Linked DNA regions of Homo sapiens: region 1 is linked to region 2. Evidence: promoter capture Hi-C in 16 types of primary human blood cells and fetal thymus (Javierre and others, 2016). All regions are on one chromosome and are shown on one strand. Each heading gives the region's core, a stretch centred on a gene start or on the middle of the fragment in contact. The rest is flanking DNA. Distances are from core to core; before and after follow the strand shown.

The links. The method cuts DNA at HindIII sites, captures the fragments that hold promoters and counts their contacts. A CHiCAGO score of 5 or more calls a contact.
Region 1: a fragment that was not itself captured here is called in contact with the fragment with the promoter of MTSS2 in region 2 in 2 of 17 cell types (total CD4 T cells and neutrophils); the score reaches 6.0 in total CD4 T cells.

The regions. Positions count from the first base shown.
Region 1 is chr16:70,156,559-70,161,839 of GRCh38, forward strand. PDPR (pyruvate dehydrogenase phosphatase regulatory subunit) reads left to right here. Exons shown (of 19, transcript NM_017990.5): 19 at 1-5,281. The coding sequence ends at 321. LOC400541 (a long non-coding RNA gene) reads right to left here. Exons shown (of 3, transcript NR_126007.1): 2 at 2,247-2,331. Among named protein-coding and RNA genes, the nearest start is that of CLEC18C, 15 kb to the right of the region's middle. The HindIII fragment of the contact is 1,139 bases long and covers 2,544-3,682 here.
Region 2 is chr16:70,684,364-70,689,214 of GRCh38, forward strand. It overlaps MTSS2 (MTSS I-BAR domain containing 2), which reads right to left and starts at 1,690. Exons shown (of 15, transcript NM_138383.3): 1 at 1,360-1,690. The coding sequence starts at 1,428. VAC14 (VAC14 component of PIKFYVE complex) reads right to left here. Exons shown (of 19, transcript NM_018052.5): 19 at 3,076-3,727. The coding sequence ends at 3,565. RefSeq lists an enhancer at 3,218-3,724. The HindIII fragment of the contact is 19,223 bases long and covers 1-4,851 here.

The DNA of each region.
Region 1 (5,281 bases), core at 1,863-4,362, 530 kb before region 2:
GACCATGATTCAGACCTAGACCTTTGGCCTTGGTGGGGAGAGCCCATTTACCGGAATGGGCAGTATGTTGGCAAGACCACCAGCAGTGCCTACAGCTACAGCCTGGAGCGCCACGTTTGCCTGGGCTTTGTGCACAATTTTTCTGAGGACACGGGGGAAGAGCAAGTGGTGACAGCAGATTTCATCAACCGGGGAGAGTATGAGATTGACATCGCGGGATACCGCTTCCAGGCCAAGGCCAAGCTCTACCCTGTCGCCTCCCTCTTCACCCAGAAGCGCCGAAAGGATGACATGGAGCTGAGTGACTTACATGGGAAGTGATGCCACCAGGGCAGCCTCACCTCCTCCCCATCATCTTGTCCTAGAGTGGGCGTCACCTTGGAGCTTCTCTTCCTTCCGCCTCTGTTCCTCTTCTGGAGCCTTTGCCTCCCATCTCTTATCTCCTTGATATAATTTTGAACTTGACCTACTTTAAACTTTTTTGCTCTGCAGCCTTCCTTGCCCTTCCACCTCCTCCTCCTAATATTCACTCTGGGCTCTTCTTCCCTTCCCACCCCTCACTCAGCTTCTCGTGGTGGCAGGAGGTATGTCTGACAGGACAGAAGCAAGCTCCACTGTGGACATGAGTGATGGTGACAGCTGCTTTCAAATTCTGCATCTCAAGGCAGGGCAAGCCGGGGTGGTGCAGGTCTCAGGGCACGAGTCCCTCTCCCTTGGGTTCCATTTTCTTGGAGCAGCCTATTAGTTCTGGTGGGGTTGCCGTGTGTCGGATGCAGCCCTGAGGGGCAGCTCGTGCCTGCAGCCCGGCAGCTCGTTCTCCTGTTCTGCTGTGCTGTGGGCTGGCACTCGATACCTCTGGCAAGAGGATGATTATCTACCTCACTGATAAGAGGCATCGCATGGACGTTCTCTGGTCTGTAGTGGAGACAAGCAGTTAACCTAGCACCATCCTCATCCTCCCTGCAGAAGCCATTAGCAGACCTTTGGGCCAGGGCAGCCTCCCTATAATTTTCTTCATCTCTTGCTAATCTCTATAATAAGGTTGCTTTTTCTTTCTTAGTTGAGTAAACAAGTAAGCCACAGTGTTTGAAAGGGAAAAACCATATTGCCTTGTGTGTTGCTTTTCCCAGTCAAAAGGGTCTGACCTTAGAAAGTCCCCACCAGTGATGCTGAGTGTTCTGCTATGGAAACAATGCTGCTTTTCTCTCAGCTGTCCAAAGTTCAGCCGTTCCTCCTTCCCCTTCTCCCAGTGCGTTTGACTTTGTCAGGTCAGCCTCACTTGTCCCTTTCACAGTTGGCCCATAAAGTCATGTTTCTCTCCCTTTAGAATAGGGAGGGGAAGGGATCAGGTGTGTTGTCCTGGGCCTTTCAACCTTGCGGGCTGTGCTGAGTTCCAGAGAGCTGCCGGAATTCCAGGTTTGACTCTCCAGCACAGAGCAGAGCTACACAGAGGTGACCCACGTTAGTCCACTGAGAGTTCTGAGTCCAAAGGGTGTACGTTGCATAAGGCTAGAGACCGCTTTTCCTCCTTTCCCCCCAGGCTCTTTGTTTCCCTCCACCCACCCTTCCATATCCTCTGGAGCAGGAGACAATGTGGGTGCCCAGAAGTGCCCTGCGCTTTCAGGCAGTGTCTCTGTTTTCCCAAGGTGAAACTTAGATATCATGGACTGTTGTCCAGCCTCAATGCTTCATTTTCCCCTTGCATATCAACTGCCCTAATCTGACTTTTTTTAAGTGCAAATAAACTGCTATAAGACATTTTGGTTAGTAAAACTCTAGCCTTTGGCGTGTTGGTATCTTGGAAGCATTAGCTCTGATAGGTCTATAAGTGTATTAAGGGACATCCTTCCATTTCATTAGAGCAGCTTAAAATGCTCAGGTGTCTGCCTTCTCTGGTGTTTCTTTGGGATCTCTGTTTACCCACTTACGCTGGCTCCTTCTAGACATTTCTTGCCACTTCCCCAACTAGACCACTCCTAGTGATTACTGACTTTAGTGCCTAAACCTTTTTGGAAGGTTCTGGTTGGCTTGTTAGAGGAGCATATGATTAGAATTCTGTTTGGGGGTCTAGTTGTCTTGGAGCAAGTATGTACTTAACTAGCCGAGAGATGCTGCCTCTAGGCAGAGAGGAGGAGAGGTGTTGCCGGCTGGAGGGCCAACCAGTGAACACCAGCTGTGAAGGCCTTGGGAGAGGAGGAACAGGCCCTTGGGCAGATGCAGGCATTACCAGCAGGGAGCAGACTTACCTCCGAAGATGGAGACAGGTGACTGAGAGCTGCAGGCCTCCTCTGCTCTTCCAAACACGTAGCATTTGCACCCCTCCAAAGCCATCTTTGTAAAGGAAAACGTATTTGTAATTGAATCCAGAAGAATTTAGTTACACATAGACATAACTCTTCAACCTTAACTATGGCAATACATTTGTGCTTTAACTGTTACATAGCAGTATCACCACTTACCAGGATCCAAATCGAAATAATAAAAGCTGTCTCCATAGTTTAAAATCGAATAGTGCCATCATCACAGTATATTAGTCAAATAGAAGCTTCATCAGAAATGTATCCCACATAGAGTTTTAAGACTTGGATTCTCTTCTGCCCTTGTTAATCTCCAACTAATTACTACAGATTGACACGTTTTTAATTAGCTGTCCTTTGTAAGAAGTCAGGAAATCTGATGCTGTGTCCAAAATTATGCACTGTTTGTTGAAGTAGAACCAGAAATCCTGACCTCCTGTTAAATGACATCAGTTTCCCCCTCTGAGCAACAGACTGCTTGTCTTGCTAGGAGAGGAGGATGGGGGGCTGAGCACTCAGGCTGTCCATTGAAACCCCTTGTCCATGAATAGGGTCATACTCCTAAGACTGATGGGGTGTTGATCTTCTAGGACATCACTTGTTTATTCAGTGCCCCAAACACAGATTTCTCTTCTAGCACTTTAGAGTTGATCCTTGAAGTCTCTCCTGGTTCATTCAAATACAAGCTGTGTGAGTCTGGTGGTTTTCTGTGATTGGTCTAATGTGAGCTCTTTGAACAGACAGATCTGACAGTGAATGACTCTCCCCTGCTTCTGGCATAACTGCTTTGCCTCTGTCTAGTGTCCAAGCATCTTAGCTGTTCAAGAGGAGAGGGCAGCATAACTTCCTGACCACCGGTGTCAGATATCAGAGCATTCTGGACTCCTGAGAGGCAGTGGCCTCTTGAGTGAACAGGGGAGGCCAGTAGATGCCCCAGATCCAGAGCCGTGGCTGCAAATCCAGCAGGAATAAGGAGGGACAACCACAGCCTCCTCATCCATGTGTCATTTCCAAGGGTTTGCCTTGTGTCTCAGCTCATTCTGGGCAGCACGTTTGTCTTCTGTCCCTAGAGATTTGAAGGATTTTGGACTCTTGTGAATGGGTGACTGGACTTGGCTTTACAGAGTTGGGTGCTTTTTTCTCTCTGCAATTACCTGTCATAGCATTTTGTGCTCACCACGAAGGATGGTCTCTGCCTTCTCTTGTCGGTGTATGCCATCTGAACCTAGGAACACAAAGTATATTGGCCTCAAACGGAGACCCAGGGTTGCCAGTTTTCCGTGGGCCTTCCCCTCCCTTGAAATGTCTTTAATTACCTCCCCTTCATCGTCAGGCCACGTGTGACTTCTGTTCTTAGCACTGCCAGGGTCATTGACTTCCATCTAAGCTTGCATCAGGAAGATGTTCCTTCTGTGATCATTGGTACTGAAGCCAGAAAAGCTCTCATTCAGGAACTCTGAAGAGCAAAAAGGGACAAACACTAACTGCTGAGCTGGGCCATTTGATCTCCTTTCACCTTGCATTGCTGTCACAGCACCTTGTATGATGGCAGGACAGGCTCCAGCAGAGAGAACTGCACAGTGACCACTGTATTTTTCACGCTCTTCCAGGGATCCCTGTCCCCCGACATTGAAGAGATCTCATTCAGGCCAGAGACACAGAGACCACATAGCCCAGTGATTAAACCCCGGTTTCACTCTGGCCCCAGGAGTGGAGCCTGGCCACTCCTGTTTGGTTCTCACTGGGAGGCCCACTGGCCTTGGATCATCTCCTCATGCACACCCGGAGTTTTACCTGCTTGCTTGCTTTCCTGGACTGCTGTTTGCAAGAAAGTAACTAAAACATGAAAAGTAAACCTCCAGCTTCCACAGTATATTACCTGCCGTTGCATGCATTTGAAAGTTAGCCTCCTCCCTTGCCACCGTCTTGGTGGCAGTAGCGATGCAAGAATGATGGGAGCTTTCCGAGAGCGTTCAGTGTTTCACTGAAGACAGGACCCATAGCCTTCATTTCTGGCTCTGTGTCTCCTCTGGCATATGGACACATTTCCTGGCATTTGCCTGAGTCTACACCACTTTTTGAGAACCTGAAATAGAAGGGAATCTTCTGTGGCCCACAGTCTCCATATTGGCACTAGAAGACTGGCCTGGCGGAGGAATTTGCGTTGGCTTGCTTTCAGGGGTTAGCTACAAGATTCAGCTTTATATCTCTGTTGCTTCTTGGCCAGTGTAGTCAATAAGGGTCTTCTTTAACATCTAAGATAGAGGTTTGGTTGGCCGGGCGTGGTCGCTTACTCCTGTAATCCCAGCACTTTGGGAGGCCCAGTGAGGTGGGAGAATTGCTTGAACCCAGGAGGCAGAGGTTGCAGTGAGCTGAGATTGCACCACTGCACTCCAGCCTGGGTAACAGAGTGAGACTCTTGTCTCAAAAAAAAAAAAAAAAAAATCTAAGATAGAGGTTTGGTCAACAGTGCTTAATAATAAATAAGAACCTCCTGCCATTCTAATTTTCCTGCTGCACCCCATCCCCCACACACCCCTCACGAACATTGATATAAGCAGTATTAACACAGTATAAAGAATGTTCACCTTGCATATGTCATTTCAGGCACATGGATTCAGGAGAAGCACAGTTGAGTGGAAGAAATGGTAGACTTGTGAGGCTTGCCCCAGGCCTTGTGTACACGCAATAAGTGGTGAGCCATGGGTCTCTCCGTCAGCGCCTCCCTCCCCGCCACCACTTCAGGCCAACAATTTAAGGTGCTGAGTTGTAAGGCTCCTCCATTGTCAGTACAGGGCTCGCCTTTGTAGCCCTGATCACTACCAGTACACTTTTCAAGACAACTGAGTATTTTTGTATGCCTTTGCCTTCCCTTTGTCCATGAAACATGAAGAGTTGTTTATGGTTCTTGACTTCTCTGAGCAGAGTGTCTGCATCTCTTGGAGAGTTACACATTTCTTCATGAGCCATTTTTCTCATTCTTA
Region 2 (4,851 bases), core at 440-2,939:
CATGAGGGGCAGGGGGTGGGGGGCATCTACAAGCCGCTAACTGGGTAGTCCCAGGCCAGGCTGGCTTCAGGCCTCTTCCGGGGGCAGAGATCTGGCAGCTGTCCCTGGGGCTGTTGTCCTGGCAGCACCGGGAGCCTCGAACTCCAACCTGCCAGCAACCCCCACCCCTCACGGGGCCTGTCCTAGCAGCACTGTACTGGGTGGTGTCACCCCCATCCCTGGCCTGGTGGGATTCTGTGTTGTGCACTTGGAGAATCTGCGCTGGGCTGTGGGGGTGGGGGCCCTTGGGAGATCCTGTGGGGTGCCTCGTTCTTTCCCCTTCTCCCAGCCCCCAAATCCTGCCCCTTCATCCTAGGCTAAGGAAAGGGGGCACGGCAGGAGGGCAGGAATACTGGTTCCTGGCCCCCACCCTATCACTGGAGCTGGGCCCTCTCTGCCTAGTCAGCGTAGGGCAGCCCTGCCAAACCCTGGCCTCATTTGGGGAGAGGAACCCACTAATTTTCCCAGGAGGAAAAATGGGGGCTGAGGTCAGGGGAAGGGTCCAATAGTCTCCTTAGTGACCTTGAGCCATTTCCAGGCCTCAGTTTCCCCACCTGGTGGGGTGAGGAATGAATGGGTGGTTGGATCCAGCCTGACCTTAAGCAATCCTGGGAGACAAGGAGGGCTCGGAGCTGAGAGCCCAGGGTGGTAATGGGGTAGGAAAAGCGCTTCCTTGGGGTTGCTCCACCGACCCCAACCTTCATCCCGCCTCCTCCCAAGGTGATGATCAAGGCCTATCCTTGGGATGCAGGGACATTCAGCCTGGAGACCTTGGAGTCCTGGAGCTTCCTGGGGCTGTGGGGGTGGGGCGGGGCTGGGGGACGCAGTCTCACGGTCGGGTGCAGAGGCCTAGGTCGGCGGGGAAGGAGTTAACGGTTCTCCGCTTTATTATTTTTTCCTGCTTTGGCGGTGACAGCATTGTCTGGGCTCCGGGGCCGTGGGGGAACATGGTGGTGGAAGGGGGCGGAGGCCGGTAAGACCCCGGACTCGTTAAAGGGCCCTAGAGTCGGTCCTGGATCCAAACCCCATTCATGGTTTGGCGGTCTGGGGCGCAGGGAGCCTGCGTGTGCACAGGCTCGGGTCAGGACCCCACGGGGCCACCGCGGGCACCGCACGGACACCCCGACACACGAGCACCCACACCCCCAGACGGGCACCCGGAGACACGGGCGCCCAGCAGACGCAGGCAGGACGCGCTCAGACAAGGACACACAGACACCGCGGCGCGCGGCCACACGAGGCTCGGCCACCCGCCGCCACGCGTCCCCGGGGGGTCCCGCACCCGTCGCCGCGCGCCCGGCCCCGCCGCGCCCCGGTTACCTTCATGTCGTTGACTATGGCCTGGAAGAGCCCGCCCAGGGCGCCGCACTCCTTCTCCGCCGTCTCCATGCTCTGGCTGGGCCGGGCCGCGGCGGCGGCTAGGCGCACGGAGCGCGGGGAGCAGCGCAAGGGAGGGGGCCAGGCCGCGCGGGCGCTCGCTCCGAGGCCGGGCCGGGCCTCCCGCCTCCAGGCTGCGCTCAGCGGCCGGCCGCGCCGCGCTCCGGGGTCGCGGGCCTCCGGCGGGCGGCGCGGGCCATGTCGCAGCGGGGCTGGCGGGCGGCGCGGGGGGCGCGGCGCGGGCAGCTCGCGGCGCAGCCTCGGCGCGGGGACTGACGGCGGCGGTAATCCGAGCCGCCGAGGATCGGGCGTCACGTGGGCGCGGCGGAGGGGGGACCGCGAGGAGGGAGGGAAGGAGGGCGGGCCGCGCGGGAGGGGGCTGTGGGAACGGCCGCGCGGGCGCAGGCCCATTCACGGCCAGAAACCAGGGCTTTGAAATCCGAGCCCGGGCGCTGCCAGACTGGTCCGGCGAGCGGGGCCGACGGGCGCGGGCGCCACCGAGGGTCGGGGGGCGGCGCTGGGCGGGGCCCGCCCTGCCCACGCAGGAGCGGGACTGGCGGTTGGGCCTCGGCCCCCGGGCAGGGGCTCCACGATATCTTCTGGCCTTTGGTCTGGGGCGGGGGGCTTCTCGCGCTTCTAAAGACAGGCAGTGGGTACAGTGGCGGGATGGGGTCGGTGCATGGGCTGGATGGGTGGCATACACCGCACACAGCAGGGCGCGGGGTATCGTGGAGCCGCCCGCCTTGGGACGTTTCATCGCAGGCACAGACCTTCCTCAAGTTCGGACCCTTCCAAGTTCCTTGGCTCCTTCTCCAAGTGGTGCCGATGCCACCCGGATGGGGTGCCCAAGGCTGGGCATTTGGGGGGCAGTGGTAGTCTCCTGGGCCTTGAACAACCTCCTTCTTCGCGGGTGGGGGCTAATGTCGGACCTGCAGAGCAGAGCTGGAGTGTCCTTGGTCTCTGCTGCCTGAGTCCACGGTGGGTGCGATGCACACACGTGCATGGGGTAGCAATGTCAATCGCAGCCTGTCCTGGAGACTCCAGGCAGGGAAACCCACCCTGGGGGGCAGCACGATGGGGGAGCGCACTCTGGGGAAGAGCAGGCACAAGCTCCTTCTCGCCTACTCCATGGGCCGGAGGGAGCCAATTACAAGCTCATTAGGAGACCAAGCCCAGGGTTCCCAAAGCCTGGGGACAGGTGGTACCACTCCCGGTGAGGAAGGGCTTTCAGCTGCAGCAGTGGTTGGGGCACCTGCCCCTCCCTGGACTGCTCTGGGCTTTTCCTCCCCTTGCCCCGAGATCTGCAAAGTGTTCTGCAGTGTGCATTGCCCTTTCATCCAGGAACTCCTGGGGCTCAGCTCCCATGTCCCCAGTGGGGAACTCCCATTGCCCCAGGGAGTCAGGATGAGAAAGGCAGATTGGGGAAGGCAGGGTTCAGGATTCCAGGGCAGGCAGTGCATGGTGCTCTCCAGGAGGGTGCAGGTTCCAGAGGTGGGGACCTAGGCTCTAGGCCCATGGCTCCACTCAGGTGAGTGCAGGGACCAGGCCCTGGGGCAGCCAGTACTCCTTGGGGCCATCATGAAACCCGATCTCCAGGACAGAGGGTGAGGCCCCCGGACAGCTGCACGTGTCAGCTGGGAAGGAGCAGGCCGGCTCGGGTTGAGGGTTTTCTGTTATTTCTTTATTGGGGTGGGGGTGGGGTGCATCATTCAGATCTTTGTGCTGGTGCCTACGTGCATACAAGTACACACACACACACACACACACAGGCATGTGTTCACGTATGTATACATATACACACAAGGCCAGAGCTCTAGTGTGCTGGAGGAGGGGCAAGCTCTTTTTCCAAGAGGGTATTAGAAAGAGGTTGATTCCAGAGGATGAGTGGTCTCTGAGGCTATAGCCCCCCACTGGGTGGGCAGCCAGCTCTGTGAGAATGCCAGGGTGCAGCTGACAGCGCTGGAGGCCTGGGGACTGGACTCTGAGAGGAGCTTGGGCAGACACAGCAGCCTCCGGCCCCAACACTGCCCTGGGTTGGCAGGCCCAGCCCTGGTCCTGACAGGCAGGTCCTTGAGCTCCTCGGGAGGGCGTGACGACCCTTAGTGTTTCATGGGACCACTCGGTGGGCCCTCCTCCGTGCCAGGCCTGTCAGAGGACAACCCTCCGGTCCAGGTGGTCCCCACGCCCGCTCCGCTGGTGCCGCACTTCCAGGTGCTTGTTCTGGACCTTCTCAAAGTGCTGCAGCAGCTCTGCGTAGTCGATGCTAGGGGAGTCAGCTTTCTGGGACTTGGGGGCTGCCTTTAGACTGTCTCTGGGAAGAGGGAGCAGAAATGCTCAGTGTCAGGGATCAGCTCACAGGGGGGTTACTGCTGGAGGGCAGTGGGGTCAGAGGCAGAGCCACAGGCTGGTGGGCTCGGCCTGTGGGCGTCTGTCTCAGGCCTGGCAACTCTTCCGTCATGGCGGGCCCCAGAGCTGGGAAGCCCCTGAGCATCCCCCTCTTCCGCAGTTGGTGGGAACAGCTAACACTGCTGCTTGGCTATTGCCCTCGGCCTGTGGGCTGGCGATGGCGCCCAGAGCAGGCATCGCATTGGGAAGCATTTCCTGTTTACGAGTGGCTCCCTTTGGGGTGAAAGCCAGGGCTAGCAGCCAGCCAGGAAGCCAGCTGGGGCCTGGAACAGGGTCTGGGGAGAAGGGGGAGGTGGCAGCTTGGCCCTTTCTCTGAGAGGCAGGGCTAGGACTGGGGAAAATGGGAATTGCTGAAGAGCCTCTGCCGGGCCCTCCACTTGGCAGGACATTTGTTTTTGAGTGTTGGGGCCCCAAGGCCTGCAGTCACTCACTGTCCCTGGGAGGAGGAATGCCGGTCTCACCACTGGACATGCCTACAGCTCCTACATTCCTGTTGCTGCCACCCTCTCCAGTTGCTCTGTACAGCAACACAGGTTGTGCACTGCACAGCTAGTGTGCATGATGCTCCCTATAATGGTGCAATGCGGTAGCCTTGCTGTCCCTGTCAAGCCCAGTGCTTAGCTTGCCCCTGGCGATGAGATCCCCTTGGGCTCCTGTCCTGTTCCTACTCACCCTCCAGCAGTGTCTCATGAAATGTTCTGCTCCCTCCCTTTGGCCTCACTGGTTTGGAGGAGCAGATCCATGTGGGCTAGGAAGTATCTGTTTCCAGGCCCTGAGGCCTGGTGGACCTGGGAAGGGGTCTCAGGAAGACTGTGGGCTGCTCAGCTAAGCAGAGAGTCTTGGGGCCCTTCAAGTTTATGAAAAGATGCCAATCGGCGGGGCCGGGAAGGGGGGTGCAGGCACTGGCAGAGCACAGGATCTAGACAGACCTGGACCCAACCATAACTCCACCGCTTCCTAGCGGTGTGACTTGAGCATGTGACTGTTTCCTCATCTGCAAAGCGAGGGCTACCTAAGGAGCGGCCCTGG